Linked DNA regions of Homo sapiens: regions 1, 3, 4, 5 and 6 are each linked to region 2. The links are contacts of gene promoters, found by promoter capture Hi-C in blood cells and fetal thymus (Javierre and others, 2016). All regions are on one chromosome and are shown on one strand. Each heading gives the region's core, a stretch centred on a gene start or on the middle of the fragment in contact. The rest is flanking DNA. Distances are from core to core; before and after follow the strand shown. Region 1 has its middle 34 kb from the start of TP53BP2. Region 2 holds the start of NVL (nuclear VCP like). Region 3 overlaps LOC105373061 (a long non-coding RNA gene). Region 4 has its middle 8.4 kb from the start of TP53BP2. Region 5 has its middle 70 kb from the start of FBXO28. Region 6 overlaps TP53BP2 (tumor protein p53 binding protein 2).

Region 1 (4,042 bases), core at 388-2,887, 450 kb after region 2:
TCTTACAATTTTATCCTTTCATTTATTACATCATTCTTAATTTTTCTCAATAATGGCTTATACTTTTCTTAGTAGGGGTGTTGTACATCTTAGAATCCTATTGGTTTTCTAATTATTCATCAATTAGCTTGGTAAATTGTACTGTACTAGGAATTAGCCAAGTTCACCTAAATTGGAAAATTCATTGGCGTAAACTTGTTTAAAGCATCCTTTTAAAAGATTTTTCATGTCTTCAGTTTCTATTAAGATGTTTCCCTCTTCATTTACAATGTTGATTATTTGAACATTCTTTTTTTATTCTTGATCATTATCATCAGAGGTTCATCATTTGATTGGGGTTTCCAAAGGGGCCAAGTTTGACTCTATTGTTCTTCTGTCTTGTGTATTTGTTTACAATTTGTATTTTTTTTATTATTTCCTTCCTTCTGCTTTCTTTTAGTTTATTTTGCTATTTTTATATGACTTTCTTAGGTGGATTCTCATTGGCTCATTGATTTTCAGCTTGTCTATGCTAGTCTGCTGGAGTGAAATGAAATAATTACTTTTTTTGATTTGTTTAAAAAATTTTTAATAACATAAAATTCAAATATATTCAAAAGTAAATGCATCATGATCTTTCACGTATCCATCATAGCTTCAACTACTAGCTCATGGACATCATTTCATCTATATCCTTACTTCTACTCGCTCCCGCTGGCTATTGATTATTTTGAAGAAATTTCACATTATCCTTGCAGTGACAAAAAACAATAATTCCTTACTATCATCAAATATCCAGTCAGTGTTTACATTTCCCCAATTCAATTCTCTTCTCTCTCCCTCTCCCCATAGTTTAATATTTAAATCAGGATTCAAATAAAGTGTAGACACAGTCTCTTGATCTGTGTGCTCTTCCTATGTCCTTCTCTCACTCCCTCTTTCCTTTGCAAGGTGCTTTTGAAGAAATGGGACCATGTGACCTATAGAGTTTCTCATCTTTTGGATTTTTCTAATTGTGTCTCCTGGGTGTCATCTAACCCACGGGTCCGTGGCCCATTAGGAATGTGACCGCACAGCAAGAGGTGAATGGCGGGCAAGTGAGCATGACCGCCTGAGCTCTGCCTCCTGTCAGATCAGTGGCAGCATTAGATTCTTATAGGAGCATGAACCCTATTGTGAACTGCACATGTGAGGGATCAGATTGCATGCTCTGTATGAGAATCTAATGCTTGATGATCTGAGGTGGAATAGTTTCATCCTGAAACCATCCCTCCTCCCCGCCTGCATCTGTGGAAAAATTGTCTTCCATAAAACTGGTCCCTCATGCTGCAAAGTTTGGGGACCACTGATCTAACCTGTTGTTTGGTCCCCTATATTTCCTATAAGCCAGTAGTTAGATCAGAAGCTTAATCCTTCAGGTTTGATTGCTTTTGGCAAGGGTTTATATCCAGAATGTATAAATAACTCTCAAAAGTCAATAATACAGAAACAAACAACCCAACTTTAAAAATGCATAAAAGATATGAACAGATATATTTCACCAAAGGAGATATATAGGTGGCGAGTAAATACCTGAAAAGATCCTCATCATTAGTCATTAGTAAATGATCTGATTTTAATTATTTAAACTAATTAATAAAATCAACTAATATGATTATTACAGTAGTAAAAAATTATGAAATTAATCATGAAAATTACTTGCATTAATGTATTTAAATTTTTATGTTAAAAACAAATTAACAGCACAATGAAACATCACTGTCTAATTAGTAATCTAATTAGAATGGCTGTAATGAAAAAAGATTGACCATACCAAGTGTTGGCAAGAATTTGGAGTAACTGGAATTCTCATACACTGCTGGTGGAACATAAGATGGTGCAAATACTTTGGAAAATAGTTTGAAAGCTTTTAAAAAAGTTAAATGTATAGCTACTATATGACCACTCCTAGTTATCTACCCAAAAGAAATGAGAACATGATGTGTCTAGGCAGACCTATACACGAATGTGTTCATAACAGCTTTATTCATTTTTTTGTTTTTGTTTTTGTTTTTTTTTTGAGACAGAGTTTCACTCGTTACCCAGGCTAGAGTGCAATGGTGCGATCTTGGCTCACTGGAACCTCCGCCTCCTGGGTTCAAGCGATCCTCCCACCTCAGCCTCCCAAGTAGCTGGGATTACAGGTGTGTGCTATCACACCTGGCTGATTTTTGTATTTTTAGTAGAGACGGGGTTTCACCATGTTGGGCAGGCTGGTCTTGAACTCCTTACCTCAAGTGATCTGCTTGCCTCAGACTCCCAAAGTGCTGAGATTATGGGTGTGAGCCACTGCGCCTGGCCTAACAGCTTTATTTGAAATAGCTCAAACCTGAGAACAACTCAAAGGTTCATCAAGAGATTAATGGACAAACAAATTGTGGTACATCCAGACAATGAAATACTACTTAACAATCATGATAACAACAAAGAAGAAATGAAATATTGAGATACATAAAAATATAGATAAATCTCAAAATAATTGTTAAGTGAAAAAAGTCATCTCCCCTAAGTATATACTGTATGATTCCACTTACATAAAATTCTAGAATATGCAAGGTAATCTGTAATGAGAGAAATCAGATGGTGGCTGGCTACCTGGGGGATGGAGTTGGGGAGGAAGGAAAAAGAGGTAGAGATTTCAAAGGGTGCTGAATGTTAGGTTGAAACCTAATCCCCAAAGCAATAATGTGAAGAGGTGTGGTCTTTGGGAGGGGATTAGGTAATGAAGGCTCTGTCCTCATGAAGGGATTAATGCCCTTATAAAAGAGGCCCAAGGGAGCTTGTTCACTCCTTCTGCCATGTAAGGACACAGCAAAAAGGTGCCATCTATGAAGCAGAGAGTCCCCACCAGACACCAAATCTGCTGGTGTCTTGATTTTGGACTTCCCAGCCTCCGGAACTGTAAGTAATAAATTTCTATTGTTTATAAATCATCCCATCTAAGGTATTTTATTATAGCAGCCTGAATAAATTAAGACAAATGGACACCAGGAAACTTTGGGGTGTGATGGACATGTTCATTATCTTGATTGTTGTGACATCTTTTCACAGGCTTGTACATGTGTCAAAGTTGTCACTTTAAATATTGCAATTTTTTATATGTCAATCATACCTCAATGTGGTTGGCAGAATAATGGCCCTAAAAGATGTTCAAGTCTTAATCCCCAGAACCTGTGAATGAATATGTTCCCTCTATGGCAAAAAAGGAATTAAGGTTACAGATAGAATTAAGTTTGTTAATCAGCTAACCTTAAAATAGAGAGATTATCCTGGATTATCTGGGTGGGCCCAGTGTAATCACAAGTGCCCTTAAAAGTGGAAGAGGAGGCAGAAAAGTTGACAGTAAGGATGCCACTGGAGAGGGATTTGAGTTGACTTTGAAGGTAGAGGCTGTGAGTGAAGGAAAAAAACAGCTTCTAGAAGGTGGGAACAGCCCTCATGTTACAATCAGCAAGAAAATGGGGATGTTGGCTCTGCATCTACAAGGAATTGAATTCTGCCAGCAGCAAAGAAATGGATTCTCCCTTAGAACTTCCAGAAAAGGGTATAGCGTGCTGACACCTTAATTTTAGTCCAGTGAAACCCATACTGGGCTTCTGATCCACAAAACTGCAAAATAATAGATTTGTGTTGTCTGAAGCCATTAAGTTTATGGACATTTGCTACAGCAGCAAACTAATATACTCAATAAAGTCATTTTTTTTTTACAATGAATCTATTTTTAAAATAGCACTTCATAGACCATGTTGCATACTTCTGTCAGGAGGCATATAAAGTCTGGTTACCTGTCTGTGATGTTAGCTGCCATCAATTGCCTAGATTATTGCCTAGAACCATTAAGTCGTCATCACTTCCTAGTGACGACCTCTCAAGGCATGACATTTCCTTCTTGGTTAACTCAACCAAACTTCCTCCTGCGATTTCTACTCATTGAATCTAAGCCCTTTTCTATGCTGTGGCTCCTTAAATATTTGAAGACATGTCCTTACTTTTAAAAATCATTTTATTTTGAAAAAATGGAAAC
Region 2 (4,285 bases), core at 439-2,938:
CAGGAGTTGGAGATCAGCCTGGCCAACATGGCAAAACGCCATTTCTACTAAAAATACAAAAAATTAGCCGGGTGTGGTGGTACACACCTGTAGTCCCAACTACTTGGGAGGCTGAGGTGGTAGAATCTCTTGAACCCAGGAGGCGAAGGTTGCAGTGAGCTGAGATTGCGCCACTGCACTCCAGCCTGGGCAACAGAGCAAGACTCTGTATCAAAAAAAAAAAAAAAAAAAAAAGAAAAGAAAGAAGGAAATTCTAACACATGCTATATGAGGGCATTAAGCTAAGAAACAAGCCAGTCACAAAAGTCAAATACTGGAAGATTCCACTTATATGAGGAAGTTAGTGTAGTCAAAATCATAAAGACAGTAAGTAGAATGGTAGTTGCCAGGGGCTGGGGGGAGGGAGGAATGGGGAGTTATTTTTTAATTAGTATAGAGTTTTAGTTGTACAAGATGAAAAGAGTTCTGGAACTAGATGGCAGTGATGGTTGCATATTATGAATGTATTATCACTAAACTGCACACTTTAAAATGTTTAAGATGGTGAATGTTCTTATATTTTACAACTAAAAAAATAAAAAATAAAACTACACATAGTGAAGAAGTAGGAAATGAAGTTGCAACCAAACGGATCAATATTTTGAGTGGGAAATCTAATACTTAATTCAGTGCTAATTTTTATATTTTTAGTAGAGACAAGGTTTCACCATGTTGGCCAGGCTGGTCGTGAACTCCTGACCTCAAGTGATCTGCCCGCCTCGGCCTCCCAAAGTGCTGGGATTACAGGTGTGAGCCACCGTGCCCGGCCTCACGCCCTTCTCTTAATTCCATTTTCTCTCCCCTCTGCCCCTTAATACACTGCACTTAACCTTGTCATAAGCCAAGGAGGACCTGAAATAAGAATACTCAAAACACGGTTGAAATAAACAAGAAGACAGAAACTAAAGCCAGCATTTTTTTTTTAATGCTTGGTAACTGTCCCTTTGTGTCTCCCTAAGTGCAGGATAAACTTCTTGGGGCAAATACAAACGTTTGATAAAATTCTGGGCCAAGGAGTCCTGCACTGGATATATTCAACAAATTACCTGCCGATGATAACAGCGTAAGTCAAACGAGTTCTAAAAGTAACAAATGACTTAGTTATCTGGATAAATCCGTCCTTCCTTTTCTTTTTCACCTAGCCCTTTTGTCGGGCCTCTAAAATGTAAGATAACTACGTGGGAAAGCAAGCAGCGGCTGGTGGTGTGTTTTTACCCTGATTTTATCACTCCAAGTATCTACCGTGGCTGGTTTTGCGAAGACTAGCTTTGTATCAGAATGAGGTGTGGCTGGAACGCCTGAGGAAAGCAAACCAAGTTTTCCAGAGGACGCCGTTGACAGCGTCTCCGCACACCGCGCCGGGGTAGGAACTTCCTCCCACCTGGTTCGCCCGGCGGGGAACCAATAAAGTTGAGCGCGTTCAAAGGGGTCCTAATCTTCCAGGGTCCACTGGGCAGGCCTGCAAAATAAGGCCCCTAGAAACTCCCTGAGGTTTTCAAGTCTTCTCCCTCTCCTCGGAATTTTTTCCCCTTCATTCGCATTACTTTTATTCTGACGGAAACGGCGCGGGCTAGGCCCCAGGAGGGGCGCATTTCAGGTGCAACTGGCCCGGCGATCGCGGCGGGCAACCCCTACGAGGCCCCCGGTTGACTAGGAGCTGGCGGTCCGAGCTGTGGCTTGGAAGACCGACGCGATGAAGCCCAGACCTGCAGGGTTCGTGGATAATAAACTCAAGCAGCGAGTCATCCAGGTGTGTATTCTGCACCGCTTGGCCTCGCCAAGGGCCCCGATCGCTGCCCCAGGGTGCCACTCCCCTTTTGTCGGGTGGCATCCAGGTGGAACTCAACTAGTCTTCTTTCCCCAGTCTGGGTCTGGGCGTGCGTCTGTTTCTCCTTAGTTGGTGCTGCCGGGGCCTTCCCTACCCACGTTGGTGCGGAGTCTCAGGGAGAAGCCGGGGATGGTGGGAGGGTGCAGCTTGGTAGGGCTGCCCAAGTTGTCTGGTCGTCTTCAGCGCAGATCATTCAGTAGAGTGGAGGTAGCCTTTGAATTTTAACCTCTTTGGCTTGTGAAGTTAGCACAGGAATGGTCTTCAAACGCTCGCATTGTAAGAGGTCCTTGAGAAGGGGTGGCATAAATAATATGTTAATTTCCGTTCTCAAGGAACTTACACACTAAAACGAGATAACATGGGTCTGGCAACAGTAACAGGCACTTTGCCTACGGTTTTCTCATTTTCATGACCATCAGTAAAAAGCAGTGTGTGGCAAATACCTCAGAATGTAAGCAAGCAGTCTGAGTTAAAAGGTGGGAGAGAATTTTCTTCACTTAGGAATTTGTGAGCTACACATTCTCCTTGTTTTTCTTTCACTTCACCAGCCCCTAAACAATCTCCTTTTCGGACCCATCTTTTCCTACCAACTTGTAAATGTTGGAAGTGCTCTGTGCCACTGTTCTCTTACCTCCCCTTCCTCCTCTTTCCTCATACACCTTTCTTATCTATCCATACTTCCTATGTGATCTCATTTAGTGTAATAACCTTTGAGTAGTATCTACATACTCTATTATCTATGTATTTATTTCATTTTATTTTTATTTTTCTGAGACATAGTCTCGCTCTGTTGCCCAGGCTAGAGTGCAGTGGCTGTTTATGGGCACAATCATAACTCACTGCACCCTCGGCCTCCCTGACTCAAGTGATCCTCCCTCCTCAGCCTCCCCAGTAGCTGGGACTACAGGTGTGCACCACCACACCTGGCTAATTTATTATTATTATTATTATTTGTAGAGACGGGGTTCCACTATGTTACTCTGGCTGGTCTCTAACTCCTGGGCTCAAGCGATCGGGCCTCAGCCTCCCAAAGTGCTGGGATTACCGGTGCAAGCTGCTGCACTGGCCTCTGTATATTTATGACTGCTAACTTTATATCTCCAGTCCAGATTTTATCTTGAAGTACAGATTGATATATCCAGCTGCCTAGTCAGCATATCTCCAAATTAAAATGGCCAAGTGGAATTTGTGATTTTTTTCTTCCTTCAAATCTGCCCTTTCTTAGTGTTCTGTATCTCAGTAAATGATACTACCGTTCGTCCTGTTGTTAAGGCCAAAAACCTTAAGGATCATTCTGAGTCTTTCATTTCCTGTATACCATCTGTCAACAGCCTGGTTGGCTTTACTTTCAAAATATATTCCAAGTACTTCTTACTGTCTTTCCCTGTAACCATCTTAGTCCAAACCATCATCTCTACCTTATACTATTACAATAGCCTCCTAACTGATCTCTCTGATTCTGCTTTTACCTAAAGCCTATTCCCCACAGAGCAGCCAGAGACATCTAATTTTTTTTTTTTTTTCTGCTCACTGCAACCTCTGCCTCCTGGGTTCAAGTGATTCTCCTGCCTCAGCCTCCCGAGTACGTGGGATTACAAGTGCATGCCATCACGCCTGGCTACTTTTTGTATTTTTAGTAGGGATGGGATTTCACCATGTTGGCCAGGCTAGTCTCGAACTCCTGACCTCAGGTGATCTGCCCGCCTCAGCCTCCCAAAGTGCTGGGATTACAGGCGTGGCCAAGACATCCTTTTAAAGGGAAAAATCGGGCTAGGGGAGGGATAGCATTAGGAAAAATACCTAATGTAGATGACGGGTTGATGGGTGCAGGAAACCACCATGGCACCTGTATACCTATGTAACAAACCCGCATGTTCTGCACATGTATCCCAGAACTTAAAGTATAACTAAAAAAAAGGGGGGGGAAATCAGAGCTTGCCATAGCCCTGCTCAAAACCTTTCAGTGGAGTCACAGACATCTAGAGTAAAACCCAGTCTGAAAAGCCCTGCATATTCTGGCCTCTGTTGTCCTAGTTTACTTTTCCTCTCCTGTCCCAGCCACACAGACCTTCTCAAACATGCCAAGCACAGGACCTTTGTTCTCGTTGTTCAGTCACTCTGAATTACTCTTCCTCTGGATGTTCCCGCGTCCCACAACTTGCTCCTTCACTTTATTGAGGTTTCTGAGCAGTGACTCCTAATTACTGGATCTAGTGGCCTCTTCTCTGTCCTCACACTTGACTCTTTTCAGCGTTTGACATTATCAGTTTTCCTCTATAGCTTTCACTTTGGTTCATTATAAAAGTACAAATGAATATCCCTTATTCTAAATGCTTAAGACCAAAAAATGTTTCAGATTGATTTTTTTCAGGTTTTGGAATGTTTGCATATACATAATGAGATATTTGGGGATGGGAC
Region 3 (4,289 bases), core at 1,146-3,645, 270 kb after region 2:
CTTTTGGAGGCTGAGACAGGCGGATCACGAGGTCAGGAGATCAAGACCATCCTGGCTAACACGGTGAAACCCCGTCTCTACTAAAAATACAACAACAACAACAACAAATTAGCCGGGCGTGGAGGTGGGCGCCTGTAGTCCCATCTACTCAGGAGGCTGAGGCAGGAGAATGGCGTGAACCCGGGAGGCAGAGCTTGCAGTGAGTTGAGATCACGCCACTGCACTCCAGACTGGGCGACAGAGTGAGACTCTTGTCTCAAAAAAAAAAAAAAGCTTTATTGGTAATCATTTCTCTTAAACTGCAGAATAAAATGGCTTTATGAAAATGTCAGGCATAGAGACGATAATAATGCAACCTTATACTGTATTTATCTGATAATTACCCTATAGGTGATTTAAATGTTTAATAAGTGCCATTTTTGTGTTCTGTGGACTTGCAAGTGTCTCTCTAGGTGAATAATTTGGAGTGGTAAAAGGATCATTTCTCGAAGATGGAAGCAAAACCTCAAGAACACTGAGTAAAAGAAAACCTTTGCAATTCCCAGCAAATCAGAATTGCTCAGAGATCCCATTGCAGCAGTCTGTTTTCTTTGCTTCTTGGAAGAACCGTTGGAGGAGCAGCATTTAACACTGACATGCACACCCTCTTCTAAGTGGGGCGAGGTAGTGGTAGAAATAATGGAATTGAAGGCTATTTCGCCTTTAGAATTGGATTCCAAGTGGGCCGCACAGTGTTCTGTGCAAATGTGCTTTTTAATGTTCATAGGGAGAAAGACACAGACTCGTTAAAAGGAAAATGTAAAAATTTCTGGAAGGGACAAAGGATTAGTAGCCACCTGTGGCCTGATGTAAATTCCTTCCCTGGTACTCTTTTTTAAATTTTTAAATTATTTTATTTTATTTTTTGAGATGGAGTCTCACTCTGTCACCCAGGCTGGAGTGAGCACAATCTTGGCTCACCTTCGCCTCCTGGGTTCAAGTGATTCTCCTGCCTCAGCCTCCTGAGTAGCTGGGATTACAGGCACGTACTACCATACCTGGCTAATTTTTGTATTTTTAGTAGAGACAGGTTTCCCCATGTTGCCCAGGCTGGTCTTGAACTCTTGTGCTCAAGCATTTCACACACCTCAGCCTCCCAAAGTGCTGGGATTACAGGAATGAGCCACCGCATCTGGCCTTTTTAAAAAAAATTAATCTGGAAATCAGCTCCACCTTCCCTGCTACTCTTTAGCCAATTCCTTCCTTCTCTACCAACACTTAGAATCTTTTTCTATATTGGCAACACCCTTTTTCTCCTGTCTATAAACATGTTCATGTTTTCTTCCATCTAAAAAAGCTTTCTCACTTCAGTGAAATTTTTAGGGAAAAATGTAAAAAAATGTAAAAAGAAAAGAAAAAGAAAAAAGAATCTCTCTTCATATTGCATTTCTCTATTTCTTCCTTTATGTCATTGCTTGAAAGAGTAACAGTCTACACAGCGTTTGACATGTAGTGGGGTACTTTATAGTTATAGAATAGCAAAGGCATGCAAGTTGTAAAAACTGTCTTTATAAAGGTTTTGTAAAAAAAAAAAAAATCTTTCCTTGAAAAGTAGACATTGATAAGGAAGAAGAGGAGTTCTGAGCTTTGGTGGTTTTAAAACATGGCCCCCAAATTCTGTGATACTCTTCTCATTGAGAAGTGGAGTCTATGTCACCTCTCCTTGAATCTGGGTTCTGTGCTTATTTGGCTAATGAAATATAGTGGAAGTGAGCAGTGCCAGTCTCCAGGACCAGGTCTTCAGAACCTGGCAGCTTCCACTTCCTGTTTCTTGGACCCAGGCACCATGTGATGAAGAAGCCCAGGCCACACAGAGAGACCATCCTTAGATGTTCCAGCTGAGGGTCAAATACAATGGTTATTGTACAACACATATGTTTTGAGGTGGTTTGGTATGCAGTCCTAGATAACTGGTGAGCTGGTCTGTTCCTTTTCTAATCTTGCTTTCCATTAATCCTGACTGGCAGATGTAACTCCTTTAACTGGCCTGCAGGCTCCCATACACTCACATCTGTAGCCCTATCTTGCCGCTAGGCAATAGTTACAAACCCAAACGGCTTCAGGGGTGTGCAGGGCAGAGAACAAAAGAACCTTGACCAGCATAGCCTAATAGAATGTTCTCATGGAAAGTTCTTAATCTACGAATCCAATACACTGTCTGGCACACAAAGTGTGGCTAGTGTGAATGAGGGACTGAACTTTTAATTTAATTTAATTTTAGTTTTTTTTTTTTTTTTTTTTTTGAGACAGAGTCTCACTCTGTCACCCTGGCTGGAGTGCGGTGGTGCAGGCTCGGCTTATTGCAACCACCACCTCCCAGGTTCGAGAGATTCTCCTGCCTCAGCCTCCTGAGTAGCTGGGTGGGACTACAGGCATATGCCACCACGCCCGGCTAATTTTTGTATTTTTAGTAGAGACAGGGTTTCACCATCTTGGCCAGGCTGGTCTTGAGCTCCAGACCTTAGGTGATCTACCCACCTCGGCCTCCCAAAATGCTGGGATTACAGGTGTGAGCCACCATGCCCGGCCAATTTTAGTTAATTTTAACATGAAATGTAAAAGCCACATAGAGCTAGTGGCTAACTATGTAGAACAGTACAGCTCTAGACAATACCTGCTTATATGAAAGAAAACACTGGTCTAATTACATTGTTTTAGCATTTCTTAAGTCAAAGTTTTAGTGCATTCTGATTCTTAAAAATTGCATCAGTAGTACCAAAACAGCAGATTCCTGCCCCATCTTTTAGTCTCACTCGGCAGAGGCAACCACTTTCACTTCTCTTGGGCATTTCTTTTGATATTTACCTCTATATGTAAAGAATATGCTTAAACTGTTATTTTAAAATTTATCCTTTTTGGCCACTATCAATTTATTTCCTGTTACAATAGATGAAGATTTAGCAAGTATTAGAGAATAGATAGTACCCAATCTTTTTAGCATCATAAAATATGCCAGCTGGCCGTGGTGGGTCATGCCTGTAATCCCAGCACTTTGGGAGGCCGAGGTGGGTGGATCACCTGAGGTCAGGATGTCAAGACCAGCCTGGCTAACATGGTGAAACCTCATCTCTACTAAATATACAACAATTAGTCAGGCGTGATGGTGCATGCCTGTAGTCCCAGCTACTTGTGAAGCTGAGGCAGGAGAATTGCTTGAACCCGGGTGTTGGAGGTTGCAGTAAGCTGAGATCATGCCTCTGCACCCCAGCTTGGGTGACAGAGTGAGAATCTGTTTGAAAAAAAAAAAGCCAGTGTATCAGTTTCTTATCACTGCTATAACAAGTAATCACGAGCAAGCCTAATGGCTTAAAACAACACACACTTATCTTACAGTTCTGGAGATCACTAGCGGGACACACACCCAGTTGGGCTAAAATCCAAGTGTTACAGGGCTGTGTCCCTTTCTGGAAGCTTTAAGGGAGAATCTGTTTCCTTGCCTTTTTTAGCTTCTAGAGGCTGCCAGAGTTCCTTGGCTCATGTCCCCTTCCTTCCTCTGTAAAGCCCACAGTGTTGCACGTGTCCAACCATTCTTCTGTAGTCACATCTCCCTCTGACTACGAACTCGGCCAAGAAAGGTTCTCTGATGAAAAGAACAGTGTGATTGGATTGGGCCCATCCAGATAATACAGGATAATCTCCCCACCTCAAGGCCCTTAATTTATTTATTTTTTTTTTTTATTTTTTTTTTTTTTTATATTTAGTTAATTTAATTGAAATGTTTTTAAATATATTGTTTCATTGCATTGATCACTAACTTTGAAGGGATTTATTTTTATTAACTTGCAGCATAGAAAGGAGTAAAAATAAACAATACTCATATTTTCCCCAGTTAATGAAAATAAACAAGTATTAGTAAAAAGCTTCTGATCTCTAAGAGTACATAATAGAATTCTTTTTGAGAATAACTGCTGTTTTGACAAATACCATATCCTTCAAGACAAATCGAACAACCAAAAGACAATCTGCCTTTATTTCTCAAAATGACTTTGACCTCAAATTCTGAAACTGACAGGGTGACTTTGCTCAGTGAATAAATATGATACAGAACCTTTTAGAGGGAATCGAATATGCCGAATACCCAAGTGATCTCTCTGTCTCTCTTTTTTTTTTTTTTTTTTTTTTAAGGCCCTTAATTTAATCACATCTGCAAAGTCGCTTTCGCTCCATCAGGTAACGTCTTCACAGATCCCGGGGATTAGAATGTGGATGTCTTTGGAGGGTTATTATTCCACCTTCTGGATGTACCTTTC
Region 4 (4,147 bases), core at 414-2,913, 480 kb after region 2:
AGAAAGAAAATAGATTTCAGAAAACAATTACTTTAGGAGAAAAAAATCTTCAGTGGTTACAGTTTGAGGACTCATCAGTTCGAAGTGAAAATTCTCTCTAAGCAGATACTACTCTCCTTTTTCAGTTTTGTAGTCTCCTAAATTTACCTTCTCTGCTGACCTTTTAAAAGCTCCCTCTGGGCCTTAACTAGAGCAATAAAAATTGAGTTTGGCCAAGACTTTTACAAATTTTACTCTTGGGAGTCTCTCTGAACCTGTTCTGGGGTTCAGGGGCTGCCTGACAAAATACAAAAAAAGTTACTCTGTCTCAATTAATGTACATTGGGCGACAATAAGAGGTGGGGTGAAATATTCTCAACTGTCAATAAGAAACTTGAATGTCATACATAACAGTTATTAGAAGTGAGTTATGAATTCCTCATAAGTGGGATTTAAATGATGATATAAAATCATCGAGTTAGTTTCTCCTTGTCTCTCCTTTTTTTTTTTTTTGAGTTGAGTCTCACTCTGTCGCCCAGGCTGGATACAGTGGCGTGATCTCGGCTCACTGCCACCTCCACCTCCCTGATTCAAGCAATTACCCTGCCTCAGCCTCCCGAATAGTTGGGATTACAGGCGCACACCACCATGCCTGGCTAATTTTTTTTTTTTTTTTTTTTTTTTAGTAGAGACGGGGTTTCACCATGTTGGCCAGACTGGTCTTGAACTCCTGACCTCAGGCAATCTGCCCACCTCAGCCTCCCAAAGTGCTTGGATTACAGGCGTGAGCCACCATGCCCGGCCTAGTTTTTCCTTTTCTAATTATTTATCTTTAGCTATTCAGAGAAAAACTTTTGTGGCAGCAACACAATTACATTCATTTAGTAATTGAGAGTCAAACATTGTGTGCTAGGCTAAAGGGAATGCCCAGAACTTTAAGAACTGGTCCTTTCCTCAAAGGAACTTAGGCCACGTAGCTGTAAAATCAGTGTGCTTTTCATAGGTATTCTTGAAAAATACTTGAATAAATCCCAAGTTTAAAAATGATTTAAAAATGGTTAGGATGCAGTTCATTCAGTTCATTCTCATCTAACACTGTGTGTTTAAGAGGTGACCAAGAAGAAATACATGTACATTCCTTACAGTAGAATAAAGCCCCTTTGCAAGGGGGAGAATGGAAGCTGCGACATACTTCGTTGGTGGCCAATGGGCCTTTGTGAGTTCTTGGCACTTGGAAGCCTGTTTTCAGTATTTCAGGCTAAAATTCTCTTGCTTGTCAATAGAGAAGCCTTAATTTTTCTTTCTAAAGTCTCATCACATAGATTTTCTTTTTTTTTTTTTTCAAATGCTCATGGTAACACGGTAGTTATAAATATAGTTTTTTTTTTTTTTTTCTGAGACAGAGTCTCACTCTGTTGCCCAGGCTGGAGTATAGTGGCACCATCTCGGCTCACTGCAGTCTCCACCTTCTGGGTTTAAGCGATTTTCCTGTCTCAGCCACCCAAGTAGCTGAGTTAACAGGTGCTCACCACCATGCCCAGCTAATTTTTGTATTTGTATTTGTATTTTATTTATTTATTTTAAGACAGAGTCTCACTCTGTTGCCCAGACTGGAGTGCAATGGTGCGATCTCCACTCACTGCAACCTCTGCCTCCCGGGTTCAAGCAATTCTCCTTCCTCAGCCTCCTGAGTAGCTAGGATTATAGGCGGCCACTACCGCACCCGGCTAATTTTTGTATTTTTAGTAGAGACAAGGTTTTGCCACGTTGGCCACGCTTGTCTTGAACTCTTGATCTCAGGTGATCCACCCGCCTTGGTCTCCCAAAGTGCTGGGATTACAGGAGTGAGCCACCGCGCCCGGCCAGTGTATTTTTAGTAGATACGGGGTTTCACCATGTTGGCCAGGCTGGTCTCGAACTCCTAACCTCAAGTAATCCATCTGCCTCAGCCTCCCAAAGTACTGGTATTACAGGTGCGAGCCACCGCCCGGCCTCATAAATATAGTTGTTTATGAAAGACACCACCATTGGCCAATCATCAGAAGGGGAGCACTTTAGGTCTGTATTTCAGCAAGAGATTTACATTCCATAGATCCTTTCACTCTCATTCAATCAGAACTTTTTGTAGGCATTTATGAGATGGCTATTTGGGGTGACAGATATAATCTATGGCCATAGAACTGGGAAACACTGACTTGAATCATGTAAGCTACAGACAAATGAATAATTCATTGATTTAGTCACTCTTTAATTAATTTATTTATTCATTCTACTATTATGGACTGAGCACTGTTTTAAGTACTGAAGAATCCATGCTAAACAAGGATGAGTAGAGTCCCTACCTGTGGGTTACAGTATTGTGGGAGAGACTGACATTAATTGAATAACACAAACCAGTGTAATGAATACAGTGAATACAGTGGTGACACATGGTGTGAAGGTGAGGTCCTTGGAGCTATGCTACAGCATGTGCTAGAGGAAGCATGAAGGGCAAAAGGGAAACTGAAAAAGGTGGTGTGGCTGAGTCTCACAGAAGGAGAGGACTGTGGTACCTAGTACCACTGAAGGATGGGCAGAGACAGGCATTCAAGGGCTTGGAGGCAGAGTTAAGGAAGGACATCAAGCAGTGCTATCTTGTGATCAGATTTACGAGAAATGATGGTAGCTTGAATAGCATGGCTGTAGTCACGGAAGAAAGGGAGCTTGATGAGATATTTAGGAGACGGAATGAATAGACCTTGATGATTGAATAGATCTTAGAGATGAGGGAGAAATAAGGTCAAACATGATTCTCAGGTCTGTGGCTTGAGAAAATGGGAGAACACTTGTGGCATACACTGAGACAGGAAGTACTAGATGAGAACCAGAATTGGGAATAAAAACTACCCCTTGGTTTTAGACATGCTGAGTTGAGACATGTTGATATGGAAATCCAGCACTATTCAATAGAGCTTTCTGTGATGATGGAAGTGTTCTGTATCTACACTGCTGAGTATTTTAGCCATTACTCACATGTGGCTATTTACATTTAAGCTAAAATAAAAGATTTAGTTTCTCAGTTGCACTAGCCACATTTCAAGTGCCCAACAGCTATATGTGGCTAGTGATTTTTGCATTTGACAATGCAGTTCTAGAACCTAGAGAAGCAGCCTAGGTTGAAAATATAAAAAATTAGCCAGGCATGGTGGCTTATGCCTGTAATCTCAGCACTTTGAGAGGTCAATCCAGAAGAATTGCTTGAGGCCAGGAATTTGAGACCAGCTTAGACAACAAAGTGAGATCCTGCAGCTATAAAAAAAAATATGAAAATAGTCTGGGCACAGTGGCTCACGCCTGTAATCCCAGCACTTTGGGAGGCCGAGGAGGGCAGATCACCTGAGGTCGGGAGTTTGAGACCAGCCTGACAAGCATGGAGAAACCCCATCTCTACTAAAAATACAAAATTAGCCTGGCATAGTGGCGCATGCCTGTAATCCCAGTTACTTGGGAGGCTGAGGCAGGAGAATTGCTTGAACCGAGGAGGCAGAGGTTGCAGTGAGCCGAGATCTTGCCATTGTACTCCAGCCTGGGCAACAAGAGCAAAATTCCACCTAAAAAAAATAAATAAATACATAACAATTAAAAAGTTGAAAAAAATTAAATTTAGTCATACATGATGGTGTGCACCTGTAGTTCCAGCTACTCAGGAGGCTGAGGTAGAAGTCTTGCTTGATTCCAGGAGTTTGGGGCTGCAGTGAACTATGATAGCACCACTGCACTCCAGCCTGGGAACAAAGCAAGAGTCCACCTCTTAAAAAAAAAAAAAAAAAGAGAGAGATGTGTGTCGATGAGGTTTAAGACTGTGAAGACAACTTTCTAAGGAAGAAGTGAAGGTAGTCAGTGAAAAGAGGAAATGGCTAGGACTGAGACTACAGGACCTTCAACTTGTAAAGTCTGGTGAACAAAAATGAGCCTTCAAAGGATACCAAGAAGTAATCAGGGAGGTAGGAGAAAAACTGTAAGAGCCTTGTCATATAAGTCAAGTGAAAAGGGTGTTTTGAAAGGAATGAGCAACAGCTAAGTTGTTCTAGAAGGTTGAGGAAGATGAGACTGAAGATGTTTATTGGATCAGTGAAACACAGGCCATTGGTGACTTTGGCAAGAGCTGTTTCAGAGGAGGGATGAGGCT
Region 5 (4,255 bases), core at 837-3,336, 290 kb after region 2:
TCACAAGCTTCTTCCCCAACTCCTCCTATTCACTATCCTATCTCCCTTCTCCCGCAGAGAATCTTGTGGGATTTTCTGTGGGATCTCAATGACTTTGCTCATTGTTCTATCTTATAATACATAACAAATAAACAAATAGTTGCAGCGCTGCATCACCAATGCCACTACTGACAATAAAACTGCTAAGTAAAGCTCAATATTTCTTTCTGGTTATGGCCACCAAAGGGGTCTCCATTTAATAGCATTGGTCTCCTCGACCCATTCCTGGCCAGCATTGAGAAAATTAAGCCTGGATTTAGTATTGAATCTCTTCCTCAGTTCTTTCTGTCCTTACAATATGTCTCGCTAATGGTGCATTATGTTAGTAATTTATTGAAATAAATTTCCTTTGTGTAGTTATGAAATCAATTTAAAATGTAATTTATTTTATCAGTTTTTAAGAAATGGCATTTGGATTTTGTGTATACTTAGAACAGCTTCCCCTCCGAAGATTATGTAGCACTTTCCCCATGTTTCTTTAAGTACCTTAGCATTTTTATTTTTACATTCAGCTGAAGCAAGGAATACAAAATTAAATAGACGAGTAATAGAGGAAAGGAGAATTTTTAAAAAACCACCAAAAACTACAGAAAATGTACAAACAGGGCAGAGCTCTAGTCTTGGGAGAACCAGGATAGCGGTGGCATTAACAGAGCAGGGATCTGGGGACGCAGGATCAGGCAAATTCCCACTGCTGGGAGCAGGCGCACAGGGATGGGCTCTGTCCCAGGAATGGATCGGAGGCCCATGCCTTCCTTAAGGCCTTGGGACTCAACAGCTGTGTCACTTGATGCTCATCCGGGCTGTTCCACGTGCTCTGATTCCCATGTTTGAACACAGACTAGTTTTAGAGCTTGGGGAAACAGGTCCTCTGGCAGGTGATTTTCATACCAACGTAAGAGATTTAATGACCAGAAACTGGATTCAGATGCTTCAAATACTCACTCCCATTCCCCTTATCAAAGATGCTAGTGGTGTGGCTAATTTAAAAATATTTTGTAGAGACGGGGGTCGCGCTCTGTTGCCCAGGCTGTTCTTGAACTCCCAGCCTCAAGCGATCCTCCCACCTCGGCCTCCCAAAGTGCTGGGATTGCAGGCATGAGCCACTGACCCCAGCCAATGGTGTGGTTTTATTGTCTTGAGCCAGAAGTGGTCTCATAAACATTTTATTTTGTGATATGATTATTGTCAGAAAGAAGGATGGAGACTTCATATTTTAAATTATTATTTTTGTGGATATTTTGAAAAGGTAGTTGTTATGACAGCCATTTAGCAGCTTGGTTGTTACTTAGGGGTGTGTGTGTGTGTGTGTGTGTGTGTGTGTGTGTGTGTGTATGTTGTAAATTTTTTTTTTTTTTTTTGAGACGGAGTCTCACTCTGTCACCCAGGCTAGAGTGCAGTGGCGGGACCTCGGTTCACTGCAAGCTCCACCTCCTGGGTTCACGCCATTCTCCTGCCTCAGCCTCCCGAGTAGCGGGGACTACAGGCACCCGCCACCACGCCCAGCTAATTTTTTGTATTTTTAGTAGAGACGGGGTTTCACTGTGTTAGCCAGGATGGGTGTGTTGTAAATTTTTATTGAAGTGTAACACATCTACAGAAACTGTAGAAATCTTAAGTGTACCTCCGTATGGTACCTTGATCAGAGAACACATTACCACTCCCTGGAGGCTTCCCTCTTGCTCCTTCCTTGCTCCTTTCTGTCCCCACAATGACTCCTCTTGCAATTTATATCACCATGGATGAGCTTTGCCTGTTTTGAACTTAATTATAAATGAATCATGCAGCGTGTACATTCTGTGTCTTGAGGCTTTCATGCAACATTATGTTGTGGCGTGCGGCAGTAGTTGGTTATGCTCATGCCTGCATTTCCCAATGTTTCTCTCCCATTCTACTGTTGCTGAGAATTTGGGTTCTTTCCAGTGTTTGATTATAAATAGTGCTGCTATGAATATTCTTGTGCATGTCTTTTGTGAATATATGTTTGCATTTCTATTGGGTATATGCCTAGGAGTGCAAATGCTCAGTTATTGGGTACGCATGTGTTCAGATTTGGAAGAAATTGCCAAAGGTTTTCCAAAGTGGTTGTGTCCATAAATGTGAATTTTTCTCCTAATTCATAATGATAGATACTCTGAAAATTAGGTTGCTCAAAACCATACATTTTACTGGAACCCTTTTTAAAAAATATTCTAAGTGAAAACCATTTTGGCATTGTTCTCCGGTTTAGAACCTTGGAATCTTGCTCACTTTTTCATGTGTGGTGAAATTGGGTTATGGTCACCAAAGGACACTCCATTTAATAGCATTGGTCTCCTCGACTCATTCCTGGCCAGCTATTGAGAAAATGAAGCCTGGATTTAGTATTGAACCTCTTCCTCATCCCACCCCTGGAAAACACATGGTTTTTGCCTTTTCATTTTATGGATTTGATGAAGCCTATGTAGCTTCATTCTAATGGAGGAGTGGAGCTTCATCAAATGGGGGAGGGAGGAGTGCTAGTGGGGGAGGGGGAGGAGGGAACCGCTGGTGGGGAGGGGGTGCTGGTGGGGAGGGGGAAGTGCTGGTGAGGGAGAGGTGTGCTTTGGGGGGGAGGGAGTGCTGGTGGGGGAGGGGATGCTGGTGAGGAGGGGGAAGTGCTGGTGGGGGAGGGGATGCTGGTGGGGAGAGGGGTGCCGTTGGGGACAGGGAGGTGCTGGTGGGGAGGGGGGAGTACTGATGGGGAGAGGGGAGTGCTGGAAGGAAGGGGGGTGTTCTGGAGGGGAGGGGGAGTGCTGGTGAAAAGGTGAGAGTGCTTATGGGGAGGAGGGTGTGCTGAAGGGGAGGGGGGAGTGTTAGAGAGGAGGGGGTTTGCTGGAAGGGAGGAGGGAGTGCTTATGGGGAGGAGGATGTTGGAGGGGAGGTGGGAATGTTGGAGGGGAGAGGGGTGTGCTGGAGGGGAGGGGGGAGTGTTGGAGGGGAGGGGTAGTGTTGGAGGGGAGGGGGTGTGCTAGAGGGGAGGGGGGAGTGTTGGAGGGAGGGGGAGTGTTGGAGGGAAGGAGGGTGTGCTGGAGGGAAGGAGGGTGTGCTGGAGGGGAGGGGGGAGTGTTGGAGGGGAGGGGGGAGTGTTGGACGGGAGAGGGGAGTGTTGGACGGAAGGGGGGAGTGTTGGAGGGTAGAGGTAGTGTTGGAGGGGAGGGGGTAGTGTTGGAGGGGAGGGGGTGTGCTGGAGGGGAGGGAGGGGAGGGGGGAGTGTTGGAGGGAAGGGGGGAGTTTTGGAGAGGAAGGGAGAGCGCTGCGGGGGAGGGGGGTGTTCTGGAGGGAGGGGGAGTGCTGGAAGGGAGGGGGGAGTGTTGGAGGGGAGGGAGGAGTGCCGGAGGGGAGTAGCTGTGCTGGAGATTAGGGAGCAGTGCAGGACGGAAGGTGGTGTTTGGGTCTACAATTCCTCAAAGTGGGCATTTGCAAGGAAATGTAGCTCCAAACCCCACCTCCCCTCTGGCAGTCCTCCCTAACCTCCGTAACAACCTTTCTTTTGGAGATCAGTGTAGTGTGTTTTTGCTGATCTGGATGCTGGCCACTGAAAAGGACCCGTGGCCACTTCATCATTTGTCAGACCAAGCATGTGTATTACATAGGGCTCTACACTGAAGTGTGGACAAGATCTTACTTATGTGAACATTCCATTTCCTCTGGTATTTAAGTGTTTACTTATACTGACAACTGATATCTGTCAAAAAAGAGAGGTTTTAGATTGTCATTCTGTCTTTTGTAATTATGAGTTTGTAACACACCATTCTAGTGGGCTCACCTAACAGAGGCAGCCTAGAGGTTTTGGTGATTAAATTGGGTGGAAGTAACTGGATGACTGTTTATGGGCTTATTTCCTGAAAGGCTGAGATACTCTGCTCTGACCGGAAAATCTATGTAAAGACTGCAACATTGGCTCCCATGCAAGAGGATCATTCACCTATTCACCCATTCAGCAAAATATTTAAAATACATTGTGAAAAAAATATATATGGCGGCCCATGTACTGTGTTTCTAGTGTGGGAGGGAAACAAAGATAAACTAAAAGTAAAACTTAGATTTACCAAACTTGAATTTTCATATCTAGAAAGGGGTTAGGCCAAATGCATAGAAAGCTTGAAAAGAAAGTTCAAGTGTCAAGAGAAAAATAAATCAAGTGTGCCAGGGGTCCAGATGAGAGGGAGGTTCTTGTAGCCTGAAGAATTTGAAA
Region 6 (4,489 bases), core at 519-3,018, 490 kb after region 2:
GTTTCTCAAGGAAGCCATAGTCTGTCTTAAAATGCTTTAGGACAGCTTTACTTTTGACCACATGACCAGAGTGCTCTGGAAGCTTCTGATGCTTCAACCTAAAAGTTCCTTGACCCCCCGCCCCCCCCCTTTTTTTTTTAATTTTAAAACAATAGTATCTTCATTTTCCTGACACAAAGTAGCGAGTGACCTAGGAAAATCAAGTCTGAGTTAACTTTAATTCTAGAACGGTCTCTTTGTGGCAGTGTTTTCTGCATCACAACAAAATCTAGATAATAACTGCTTAGTTTGTGATATGTAGGTAATTTTCAAAAATTTTGTTAATTTCCTGAAAAGTTTGGGGGGTATCTATTTTGGATAATGCATTTATTTTAAAGGTAGATAGGATCTTTCTCTGGTAGGTTTTGCTTGTTGCTTTTAGTAGCCACGGACCTGGGCTTTCATCCTGCTGCTTTTCCTCTCTTCTGTCTTCTCCTGGAGCTGTTGAGTCACCAGGGCACACAGATCCCTCTTCTCCATTTCCTGGGGCACCTGTTTGGCCTCACCCCTCTCCTGCCTGGACTGTTGTAATGCTCTCCTTATCTATTTTCTTACCTTTTCTGTTCTCTGCCCCATCAGGCCATTTAACACACTGCTTCCCTGGTGGTCTTTCTGAAACAGCAATGTGTCTCTTCCCTCTCCAGAATTCTTCAAGTCTGACCTCTGTTCCTTACAGCATAAAATATATAAACTCTTTAGTGAGATAGAAAGTTTCTTTATTGTGTAGCCCAGTGGATTTCAGCCTTTTTGTGTCATTGATACATTTCCATTTCAGAATTTTTAGCTGCATAATGGAAATGATTGAAAAACTCAAAACACCAAGTCAGTTATTAAAACATAGCACCAGCTATGGCACAGTAGTGGGAATGCCTTGTGCTGTGCAGAAGAGCATCCGGTCACCTCGTGGTTCATTCGGCCTTCCTTCGGAATTGTGTTTCCTCTTGCTCACAGCAAGTTGTACTCTGTTGCATATTGCTCTCCACTCTTGCATATTGCCCTCCATGACGTGCTCCGCTCCATCGGACTTTGCCATAACAGCATGTGTATAAAACAAATTTTGTGCATTGAAAGTTTTTGCAGCACATTCGTGGCTTGTGGGTTGGGAATTGACCCATCTCTTCTTTGTCCTGCCTTGCGTCCCACCTCTGTGCTTCAACAGTTCCAGGACTATAGTTGTGAGGGCATGCCACAGTTTCCTGTGTCTTTATACACAGTGTTTCTCTCCCTAGATGGTCCTCTTCCTGCTTGTCTTATTCATCCTACAGTTTTAGCTTAATAGTACTTCTTTTATGTTAAGCCTTCTTCCACTGCTTGGAGGGGATTTTTTTTTCTGTTCTCACTGGACTTCAAATGCTTTAAATGTACTTTCACCAGGAAGTTCTCATTTCTCAACATTGCACCCTTTTCGTGGTTTGCAGTGCTTCTTCATTGTTCCATAAGCTCTGTGAGGACATGGAGCATGCCTTTTCATCTTTGTGTTTCTAGCACTTAGCACAGTGTTTGGCACACTGTAGGGATTTAATAAATATTGTTTGAGTTAATGGATGAATGAATATTCTTATTTTGGATTTTCTTTGGTGAGTGTAGTTCTTGCCTCTACTTCCATAGCAAAGTGGGAGGTAGGAAGGAAATAACTAGAAGCAATGGATCGGTTGTAGTTAGATCATCACGGATAGATCTTAAAAATGTAGTGCTTAGTGAGTAAAAGTAAAAAACAGAATGAAATCTGTAACAGTACCTTTACATAAAATAAGACGAATGCCTGGCAAACAAGACTCAGTTTAGAAGGAAGCACACCAACACTAAACTTATCAATAGTTGGAGCCGGGGAGGAATTAACTAAATGTATTTGTTCTTTTGCTTTATACATTGATTGTTTATGACAGATATTGAAGCAGAGTAACCTAAGATGAGTTGCTTTAGAGGATACGTTCAGAATTTGAAACTTATCTAAATTCAGCTTCAGGCATAGTTGAAAGAAGAGAAAAGGTTTCTTAATTTTACTTAAAGCAGAATTCTTTGAGACATTGTCTGGCTTTGAAAACATTCACTGTGAAGTAATACCATTTATAGATAAACATTTCTTGATGCTTCAGGATGTGAACATCCTCTTTGTCATGTTCTTGTTGCCTGTTAACTTTCTCCTCTTCGTGGAACTTTGAATCCCTGCGTCACAGTTTCAGTTCAGTCCAACAAACATGTATTGCATATTTGCTTTGTGTGAGATCTGACAGAGTTTTTTGGGGAGTGAGTTATAATGTAGGAGGAGGAAAACCAGGGAGGAGGCATTTAAGAACCAAAACATGTGTACTAAAGAATGTATAGACCAGTAGGACAGATAAGACAGGGATACAGACAACTACAGTGTGAATGGTTGTCAGAGAAGCAAAGAGAACATTTACTTCTGGCTGGAGGTGAGTGTGTGGGTAGGGATGGATGGATTGGAGGAAGTTTTATGGTCTTTGAGTTATTCTGGAAGGATGGGGATGAATTGACACTACAGGACAGAGTAGGAATCAGGTGAGCTACTCTGGGGAGAGAAGTGAGGAAAAGTGGCTATTTTAGATTCCTCATTTGGTGACTCGAGGCTATAACTGTGGAGTAGATAATTTAAAATAAATTTTAGGTCTTAATATTTCTTGTAATTGAAATGGAATTCCCTGAAATTCAAAATATGCAAATATAAATACCAGTGTATATGTGTCATAATGTATTGCTATTGTTGTTGGGTTAACTACTGGTATTATAATTAATATATACTACATAGATTAATACACACTGTTGTTATCTGCTAGTGAAATTAATACTCTACATTATTTGCAGCAAATTACTCAGAAACCTAGTTTCATGTTACTTCCCTGCTCAAAACCCTCTAATGCAGTGGTTCTTAAACTTAAGTGTGAGTACTGGGCCTCTCCTCTGGGGTTTCTGAATCAGGAGATGTGGAGCAGGGCCTGGAACTTTATATTTCTGACAAGTTCCCAGGTGATGCTTATGCTGTTTGTCTGAGAATTGCATGTTGTAAATCACTACTCTAGTGACTTTTCCCTTGCAATAAAGTCCGTACTCCTTATTCTTGACCTACAAGGCCCTGCCTGAGCTACCCCCTGTTCTCCCTGCCCTCATTGGCATAAGTCTGTATTCCTGATGTGGCGTTTTTTTCTGGTCATGGAATAGTCCAAGTTCATTACCACCTCTGGGCCTTTGATGAAATGTCTTCCTTCAGATGTTTCAAGTGGCTGTGGCTTCTTCAGTCTCAGCTCAAAAGTCCCCTTCACCCTGAGGTGTCTTTCCTAATCATGATCAGCCATCCTCCCCTCATCACTTCCATAATTCTTTATCATATCGCTTTATATACCATGCTCATTTGTGTGCTACCAGCCTCTCTTCTCTGCCCTAAAGAAGGCAAGCTTTTTCATCACTGTGTTCCTTTTGCTTTAACTGTCCTTTCTTAATAGGTATTTAGTAAGTACTAACGGGTGAATGAACGAAACTTCTTGTTGAAGTCAGCAAGAAGTTAGGATTGAGGGGAAGGCATAGAACCAGGAGCTTCTTTGGCATGGCTGGCTTTGATAGGATATGACTCCTATAGGTTTCTATGTAGAGGTCCCTGTTACCTATTCATGTATATGAAGTGGTTCTTTTACCAGACATCTATGACCAGCAGGCTACTTTATGATTTTTTCCTTAATTAAAGTAACTACTTCATATTTGCTCTATCATTTTTTTCCAGAATGTTGACTATTTCAGAATATGATTGTGTGCTCCAGATGATATTGAATGGATGGTCAGGATAGTCCATGCCTGATTAACATTTTTAACAGAATATTGTTCAAATTGATATTGAGACTTCACGTTATTGATTTCTGAATTCTACTAACTTGCTGTAAGTGAGCAAAGGAATAGTTTATGAAGTAAAAAAAATCCTTTGAATATGACTTTATGATTTTGCTTTAAATAAACTCAGATGTAACTGATAGGAACTGATGGGTTAATGTTAAAAATATGCCATCATATAAAGTGGTACACTTAGTGTAGAAGTAGGTTTAATATCATTGAGCCTTAATAGAACATCGGTATACATAACTTATGGTAATTGGTGAATATTTTTAAAAGCAGTTTAATGGCTCCAAGAGTAAACTCTAGAGAAACAGCTAAGAAATCATGATAGGCCTTTGTAAGCAGTGATTCTCTGATAACTTTAATAAGGTTGGGACCCATCGTCAGGGAGGTAGAGAGTGTCTCTTTGAGGGAAAGGACTCAAATATGTAGTGTCCCTGTGGCTCCTGAGGAAGGTTCCACAGAGACCCCTGTGGGTTGCCTACTCAGATATTGGGGAGACGAGGAAGGACAGCTCAAGCTCAAGCTGGGGTAGTGGAGCAGCACACTTCTTGCAGAAGACTGGCAGCCTAGCTCACAGCTAGGGTGCAGCATGTCTGAATTAGGGAGC

Evidence for each region. Contacts are between HindIII fragments. The CHiCAGO score rates a contact against its expected background, and 5 or more counts as called.
Region 1: a contact is called between a fragment that was not itself captured here and the fragment with the promoter of NVL in region 2, in 1 of 17 cell types (naive B cells). The highest score is 6.3, in naive B cells.
Region 3: a fragment that was not itself captured here is called in contact with the fragment with the promoter of NVL in region 2 in 5 of 17 cell types (naive B cells, total B cells, total CD8 T cells and 2 more); the score reaches 8.9 in naive B cells.
Region 4: a fragment that was not itself captured here is called in contact with the fragment with the promoter of NVL in region 2 in 1 of 17 cell types (total B cells); the score reaches 6.3 in total B cells.
Region 5: a contact is called between a fragment that was not itself captured here and the fragment with the promoter of NVL in region 2, in 5 of 17 cell types (total B cells, naive B cells, naive CD8 T cells and 2 more). The highest score is 7.3, in total B cells.
Region 6: a contact is called between a fragment that was not itself captured here and the fragment with the promoter of NVL in region 2, in 6 of 17 cell types (naive B cells, total B cells, monocytes and 3 more). The highest score is 12.4, in naive B cells.

What each region holds. Positions count from the first base shown.
Region 1 is chr1:223,877,824-223,881,865 of GRCh38, reverse strand. No RefSeq gene overlaps it. Among named protein-coding and RNA genes, the nearest start is that of TP53BP2, 34 kb to the right of the region's middle. The HindIII fragment of the contact is 501 bases long and covers 1,387-1,887 here.
Region 2 is chr1:224,327,575-224,331,859 of GRCh38, reverse strand. It overlaps NVL (nuclear VCP like), which reads left to right and starts at 1,688. Exons shown (of 23, transcript NM_002533.4): 1 at 1,688-1,789. The coding sequence starts at 1,733. RefSeq lists enhancers at 1,471-1,620, 1,641-1,690, 1,881-1,930, 1,981-2,120. The HindIII fragment of the contact is 14,633 bases long and covers 1-4,285 here.
Region 3 is chr1:224,059,288-224,063,576 of GRCh38, reverse strand. The region is part of intron 1 of LOC105373061 (a long non-coding RNA gene); the gene reads right to left. Among named protein-coding and RNA genes, the nearest start is that of FBXO28, 53 kb to the left of the region's middle. The HindIII fragment of the contact is 2,114 bases long and covers 1,339-3,452 here.
Region 4 is chr1:223,852,265-223,856,411 of GRCh38, reverse strand. It overlaps the pseudogene PHB1P11. Among named protein-coding and RNA genes, the nearest start is that of TP53BP2, 8.4 kb to the right of the region's middle. The HindIII fragment of the contact is 8,345 bases long and covers 1-4,147 here.
Region 5 is chr1:224,042,286-224,046,540 of GRCh38, reverse strand. No RefSeq gene overlaps it. Among named protein-coding and RNA genes, the nearest start is that of FBXO28, 70 kb to the left of the region's middle. The HindIII fragment of the contact is 4,153 bases long and covers 10-4,162 here.
Region 6 is chr1:223,832,796-223,837,284 of GRCh38, reverse strand. All of the region lies in intron 1 of TP53BP2 (tumor protein p53 binding protein 2), which reads left to right. Among named protein-coding and RNA genes, the nearest start is that of TP53BP2, 11 kb to the left of the region's middle. The HindIII fragment of the contact is 3,367 bases long and covers 85-3,451 here.